2 separate regions of the Homo sapiens genome follow, and region 2 is linked to region 1. Evidence: promoter capture Hi-C in 16 types of primary human blood cells and fetal thymus (Javierre and others, 2016). All regions are on one chromosome and are shown on one strand. Each heading gives the region's core, a stretch centred on a gene start or on the middle of the fragment in contact. The rest is flanking DNA. Distances are from core to core; before and after follow the strand shown.

Evidence for each region. The method cuts DNA at HindIII sites, captures the fragments that hold promoters and counts their contacts. A CHiCAGO score of 5 or more calls a contact.
Region 2: the fragment with the promoter of B3GNT2 here is called in contact with the fragment with the promoter of C2orf74-AS1 in region 1 in 1 of 17 cell types (neutrophils); the score reaches 6.0 in neutrophils.

What each region holds. Positions count from the first base shown.
Region 1 is chr2:61,176,601-61,180,136 of GRCh38, forward strand. It overlaps C2orf74-AS1 (C2orf74 antisense RNA 1), which reads right to left and starts at 1,685. Exons shown (of 2, transcript NR_183879.1): 1 at 1,506-1,685. It also overlaps the pseudogene AHSA2P. RefSeq lists a silencer at 591-1,140. The HindIII fragment of the contact is 7,287 bases long and covers 1-3,536 here.
Region 2 is chr2:62,193,908-62,197,558 of GRCh38, forward strand. B3GNT2 (UDP-GlcNAc:betaGal beta-1,3-N-acetylglucosaminyltransferase 2) reads left to right here and starts at 2,208. Exons shown (of 2, transcript NM_006577.6): 1 at 2,208-2,448. It overlaps LOC124906013 (a long non-coding RNA gene), which reads right to left and starts at 2,106. Exons shown (of 2, transcript XR_007086336.1): 1 at 1,232-2,106; 2 at 82-1,000. RefSeq lists enhancers at 693-1,300, 1,907-2,513, 3,494-3,603 and silencers at 1,594-1,823, 2,114-2,553, 2,734-3,083. The HindIII fragment of the contact is 10,818 bases long and covers 1-3,651 here.

The DNA of each region.
Region 1 (3,536 bases), core at 435-2,934:
AGGCAAAGGACAGGTCGGCACAGGGGAAGAGAACAGTCAGATGCTTCCACCTTTTCACTGTTCTACCCATTTCTGTGCTAACTACCCATGTAGTTAGCAGAGAACACCCCAGTAACATTGTCCAAATAGTTCGTGCAAAGTTTTAGCTAGAAGCCGAAAATTCGTGAAAGGAATCATTAATACTCCATGATAAAGTGCATCAGTTTGCAGTAACATGCGTTTGCAATCACATTCTTTCGTTCTCTCTAAAGGATTATTACGTGAATAAAATGGAAATACTCCCGCAGTAACATGGGACTAGTTGGAAAGGTGCCGGGAAGGGGGGAGGGCGAGAGACTGCGTCGCGGAAAAAACCGCAGCGCGGCAACTGGGCGCGGACTCGCTCTTAGGCGAAATCCGCAAACGGTGTGACGTGTGCGCGCTGTGGCCCCAAAGGCCGGTCTTACAGCGACCTGGGCGTTCGAGGTCGTGTCCTCGAGAGCTATAGGGAGCCTGCCGAGGCCACCTGACGGCGGTGTCGCGTCTACACTGCCGGTTGGACTCTCAGGCACCCGCTACTCAGCGCCCTGCTTCCCGGCGCCGGGAATCACGAGCCCGCCAGCACCGCGGGACTTGCAGCGCCCTCCGCCCTTCGCAGGCGGCCCAGACAGCCCCGTCCCGCCCTAGCGTTAGGAGACGCGCAGCGGAACCCCGGCGGCCCCAGCCCCTCCCCGCCCGCGCGTCCCCGCGTCCCCGCGTCCCCGCGCGACCCGCCTCCCAGATCCCGGCTGGGGCTCCCGGGCGCGCCGCGGCAGGGCGGGGCGGGGCCGGGGGCGGGGCCTTCTGGCAGTTTCTGGGAGCTGCGAACGCGCCGCCCCGGGGCTCGGCGGCCGGAAACGCTGGCTTCGGAGCCTTAGGCGCCGCGGCCTTTCCTTGTTTTCCGCCCAGTCCACGCCGCCATGGCCAAGTGGGGCCAGGGGAACCCCCACTGGATCGTGGAGGAGCGGGAGGACGGGACCAACGTGAACAACTGGCGCTGGCGCGGCTGGCGGCGGCCTCCTTCCGGGATCTGGGGAGGGCCGGGCCGCGGGAGCCGGGGCTGCCCTGGGGTCTGTGCGGGGCCGCGGGGCCAGGGGGTCAGGGGGCCGCCCCCCCTCAGCTGCTGGACGCAGGGCTCGGCCTTCGCCTCTCGGCTCGGGAGAGTCCTTGAGTACGGAGACCGGCTAGGAGGGTTGCAGCTGCCTCTTTTTGAAAGTTGGGTTGGGCCCCAAGAGTGACTTCCGACAGACCTTTCCACTCCCACCGTCTGTGGCCTGAGGGCCTTCCCTTCTCCTCCCGCCCACCCCTCTGGATGTTTCGGGGAGTTAGAAGGGAGCTGGATTGAGAGACTGTGTTAGGGGCGGGGGTATGGAACGTAGTGGAAAGGGCAGAAATTTGGATCTCAGTTCGCGCCCACCCCGCAGGCGCCTCCCGCGAGCCGGGCCCTCTGTGAGTGAGACAAGCTCCCCTTCCTTTACGCGCCTCACCTGGCGCGTGGGGAGAGGTCGGCAGCCCTCCGCCGCAGAACCTCCGGAAGGGATGTCCTCTGCCCTGCGCCTCTGGCCGGGGCTGTGGTCCCTCCAGGCCGTCGAGGGGATGCTGAGGCCGGTCCCCAGAGGAGCATGACTTGGCTGGTCCGGAGGAGCTCTGAGGGCATGGGCAATCTTGGCTCGCTGCAACCTCAGCTTCCAGAGTTCAAGCGAGTCTCCTGCTTCAGCCTCATGAGTAGCTGGGACTACAGATGCGTGCCACTACGTCCGTCTGATGTTTGTATTTTTAGTAGAGACAGGGTTTCACCATGTTGGTCAGGCTGCTCTCGAACTCCAGATCTCGTGATCCGCCCGCCTGGGCCTACTAAAGTGCTGGGATTACAGGCGTGAGCTAGATCTGACTTTCTAGTGTCCTAGCCTTGGCCCGATGGACATGTCATTTCTCTCAGCTCGTTTCTGTCCCCTAAAGTGAGAATATTGCCTGGGAAGATTACATTAGACGATGTATATGCGAAGACACTTGATAGCTGGTATTGTCATGATTCTGATTAGTTCACTACTGCTACTTTCCCTGTGGCCTAGGCTTTGCCTATTTCCAGTGGGCGAGCTAGCTAGATCCTCCTCCCTTAAATAAGCCAGTGTTTTTAAGACAGAATACTACTTGCATAGTGGACAATAATATCTTAAAGAACTGAGCAGGATGAAAAGAATTTGATAGAAAGCAGGTTTGAGGAGCACATTGGAGGTTGGCAGGTTTCGAGGCTGCTTGAGAGGACTTGGGCCGATCTGGGCTGGGCTTGGACGTGACCCTGGCACCCAGGCAGGTGGATCCCAGCTGGGGCTTCCATTCACGACTTTCTGGTCCCTGGCAGGACAGAGCGGGATGCCACCAGCTTGTCCAAAGGGAAGTTCCAGGAGCTCCTGGTGGGCATCGTTGTGGAGAATGACGCTGGCCGCGGCGAGATCAACGAGTTGAAGCAGGTGGAAGGGGAGGCTTCGTGCAGCAGCCGCAAAGGAAAGCTGATTTTCTTCTATGAGTGGAACATCAAACTGGGCTGGAAAGGTAACAGGGGCCTCAGGGTACTAGTGGGGCTGGGGACAAAGTGCGTTCATCATTCAGCGAATGTTTTTACAGCCCCTGCTATGGGCCTGGCACACTGACTGGCTCCTGAATCAGCGTTGGTAGATCCTGACACTCTGGCCACACTTGAGTTCCATGGGCCAAGAAGGATGGGGATTTCCCTTCTCGCAGCACTCGCAGCTGCTTAGAGCTCATTGCTGTCAGCTGGGCCCTCTTCTACCAGGCCCTTGTGAACAGGAGTCTCCCGGCATTGCTGCCTGGAGCACTCTTCCCCCAGGTAGCTGCCTGCCTCCTTCAGGTCTTTGTCCTGAGTAAAGCCATCTCTGTGCATCCTTGGAGACTCCTGCCTTGTGCCATCTTTCTTCCCTACTTTATTTTTCCCCAAGGCACTGAAACTTGCTTTACAAAACTATTTTGCTTACTGTCCTGCTCCCTCTTTCTGTCATTCAGTAGGGTAGGGATTTCTTTTAAAAACGGCTTTTTTGAGACATAATTCACTCATTTAGTGTGTATAATTTATTGGTTTTCGGTATAGTCACAGAGTTGTGCAGCCATCACTACAATCAATTTAGGAACATTTCACCACCCCAAAACAAAACCCTGGACCCATGAGCAGTCACTCTTGTTGCCCTCCTCTTCCCCAGTCCCTGGTGTCTGCTCACCCGTTTTCTCTGGATTGGCCTCTGAACATTTCACATAGATGAATCATGTAGGATGTGTTTTTTGGTGTCTGCCTTCTTTTACTTCATAATGTGTTCAACGGTCATCTGTGTTGTGTCAGGTAGCAGCACTTTATTCTTTTTTATAGCTGATGAATATTCCACGGGTGCATATACTGCATTCTGTTTCTCCATTTATCAGTTGCCGGGCATTTTGGGTGTGTCCACTTTTGGGGTCTGTGGGTTCAGTTCTCCAATGGTGCCTCGATCCTGGCTGAGCAGACAGCG
Region 2 (3,651 bases), core at 958-3,457, 1.0 Mb after region 1:
GACACATATGCATGGAAACAATATACCAATCTGATGGCACAGAAAATCTTCCTTAGATGTCCGCTTTGTCTCAACACTGCATTTAAATATCAGACAGCAGCCTAGAGATATCTTTATTTAAACCCAGGAACATGGACTCAATATTATTTTGATACAGAATGAAGACATAGACTTCATTTATTAATTTATACTCCCTAGAGTTCTTTTTTTTTTTTTGAGACAGAGTCTCACTCTGTCACCCAGGCTGGAGTACAGTGGCACGATTTCGGCTTACTGCAACCTCCGCCTCCCTGAGTTCGGCGATTGTCCTGCCTCAGCCTCCCAAGTGGCTGGGATTACAGGTACATGTCACCATTAATTTTTGTATTTTTAGTAGAAACAGGGTTTCACCATGTTGGCCAGACAGGTCTCGAACTCCTGACCTTGTGATCCACCCGCCTCGGCCTCCCAAAGTGCTGGGATTACAGGCGTGAGCCACCGCGCCCGGCCTCTACTTCCTAGAGTTCTTAGAGAATTTCTAGCTTCTGTTTCTTTAAACATGTTTTATTAGCTTTCTAAATTATGAAAGTAAATACAACTGGAAAAATACAAAATCCAAAGTCAAGGGAGTAAAAAAATGTAACTCCCTTGTTTCCCCTCCCCGCGTAACCGTGGTTAACAGTCGGTGTGCACCCTTACAGATGTTTTTTCTATGAAAATACAAACATTCGACTTGTTTCTTGGACTTTACCTCGCAGTCCGAGGAGAATCATGTGAACAGCATGAAAGCAGCATGGTCCGAAGACTGCAAACCATAACATTTCCATATCTACTGACTCTGAATTCCTGTTTCTAGAGGACCCGCACCCACGTGGCTCTGTGCATCCGCAGCAACTTGGTCTTTCTTCCTTTGCTGAGTTTGGTTAAGGGAAAGGGCCGATTATTGAGTGGGCTCAGTTCACAGGTGCCTGAAATTCCTACTTAGCAATGTTCCTTTCCAGCTGATTCCGCCTCCGAGAGCCTTAGGAAAAAATGCTAACAGTTAGGAGCGAAGCGTCCTTAATTGCTCAGTCCAATTATCTAGATGGGTCCAGGTTCGGTTTCGATTCAGAGATAAGGACCAGGGGGCGGGGACGCTTCCAGGTGAGCCCCTGGTTAGGCTTGCCTCCCCGCGGAGCGCACGCGGGTCTCGCTGGCTGGACTGGGCCTTTCAAGACCAGGTAACTTCTCCATCCGGTATCGCCAGGCTTACCTGGGGGCCTCAGAATTGTGTCAGCTGCGTCTCTGAGTCACCTTGGAACCCCTCGAAGGAGCGCGGGGCTAGGAGGGCGCATCGGTGGGCCCGGGGACCCCGCTGCTAGGTGTGGTTGGCGCCAAGGCCGCCTCTGGCCGGCGGAGCCCTGCAGTGTCCGGAGGGTGCGGTCAGAGTCCGGCCCTTTAGGCCTTGCCTCGGTATCCGCCTTGCCCCTTGGGCCGCGGCACGGGTTCGGGCCGAGCGCCCGGCATCTTGCGTTTCTGGCTTCCTGAGACGGGCGTGGGACCTCGAGGAAACCACTCTGCATGACCCCACGAAGAGAACTAAGGACCACCCCCCACCCTTCCTGTCCTGGACGGCTTCATAAGCCAGAGGATCCAGTGGCAGTACCAAGCAGGGCACCACTCTGGGTCGTGAGCACCTAAGAGGTGGAGCAAAGGTCAGACCCCAGGGTGGCCCAGGCCTCCCTCCCCCGCCTCCCCGGCGGGGCCATTCCTCACCCGCCCCAGCACTGGAGGGGGCGGCCGGGGTCGGTCTAGTTCCGGTTACAAACTGGACAGAAAAGGCCACTGGAGTCTCGCTAGGCGATGCGCCTAGTCCCCTAGCCTCAGACGAACCGCAAGAGGGGCCACCCACAACTGGAGGGGCGGAGGCTGGAGCTGAGTTTCATTAGTGTTTTTGGAGCTGCCAGGCATTTCCAGGGGGGTCGCCTTCCTAGAGGCCCCCTTTCCCCAGCTTAACCCTCGGCTTTGCAGGAGGGTGCGTGGGGGCTGGAGGGTCCCTGGAAGCCGCAGGGAGCGCGGGCCCGGGTGGGTCCTGGTACCGGGTGGGGAGAGCGGAACCCTCCCAAAACTTGGGGCGCGGGGCGGGGCCGTCGGGCGGTGACGTGAGGGGCGGGGCCGGGCCCCATTGGCGGGCGGGCAGGGGAGGGGCGGGGCCGGGCGCCCGCGGCGGCTGCTGCGCCTGGAACCGGAGCCTGGAGTGAGGCGCAGCGGCAGCGGCAGCAGCGGCAACAAGTGCCGGAGGCTAGCAGAGCCAAGCCGGAGCAGTCCCTGCCGCCGACACCGCCGGGCCGCCCGTCCGGGGCGCCGCGCATGGAGCGTGAGCTGCGGCGGTCGCCGGGCTGAGCCGCGCGGAGCGGCCGGGACGTGGATGTGGCCGCGATCTCCCGCCCTTGCCCCCGCCCCGCCGAGCTGGAGCTGCTCCCGGACAAGGTAGGGCCCGGGCGCCGAGCACCCCCGCCGGCTCCCTCCCCGCTGCCCTCTCACCGCCAGGCCCCTCTACCAGTCCCCTTCCGCCTCCCTGCTTCCCGGCCCCACCTTCCGGACACCCTGCTACCCCCGCCCGGTTCCTCGCCGGTTCCGGCTTCGTACCCGCGCCCCGGTGGAGGAAGCCGTCCCTAGGTGGCTCCTGCCGCATTTAAGCCTCCCTTACCTTCCCGCCGTCCCAGCCACCCAACCTCAGCCCAGAGGGAGAGGAGAGGGACACCGCCCGCTGCGGGGCTTTGGAACCTCCCAACCCATTCCGTGCCCACCTCGCCCTGGAGCCCGGGGACCTTCCCCCTCCTCGCTGCACCCCAACTTCCGGGGGATCCGGCGCCGGGGCGATGCGGGCTTTGGCAAGGGGCATCTGGGGCCGGGCCTCCTCATCCGGGGCGCGCGGGCATTTCGGGGAGGGGGGCGCGCGTGATTCCTCGCTCGCACCCCCGCACCCCACCCTCGCACTGCGCCGGCCTCCCGTGCCGCATGGGGAGATCAGGTGTTTTGTGAGCCAAAGAGCCGCCGGCAGCCGCTCCCCACCCCCCACCCCCAACCTCTGCCACTTCTGTCTCCGGCTCCCCCAAAACTGGTTTCTGCCAAACTTAGGGAAAACCTTTCGCTTTGACCTTTTAAAAAAAATATTCCACACTGTTTGCGTTGAATGATTAACCAGGCTGCTAGCCCGAGTCGTGGGGGTGGGGTGGGGCGGGGTGGGGTGGGTGCTGCCAGGCCAGGGAGCGCCTGAAGCCGGACTCTACGAGACACCCCTCGTGGGAAGGTGGGCGTGGGGGGCCCTGCCGGGGCTGCGGGCGCGGGACTGGCGGCTACTCCAGCACGGCAGGCGGACCCTTCTGGAGGCAATAAACCGAGTCACCCGGTTAATTTCCAGGCCACGGTATTTGAAACTCGGGGCTGGGGAGCCGCAGAACTCCCTGTACCCCCATCAAGTAGAGGAGCCGTCGGGAGACTCCCCACAAGTGTCACAGCGTCAAAGCTCATCTTTAAAAATATGTACATTTATAACCTGGGTTGGCGAGGCGGCGCTCTTCTGCCCAAAACGTAGGGGTGGTTAGTTTGTAGAGTGGGCTTAGCTCACAGGTGCCTGAGCTGTATCCCCGTGGCCGCCTCAGCCACCCCAACTTCTCAGAAAGATTGTTT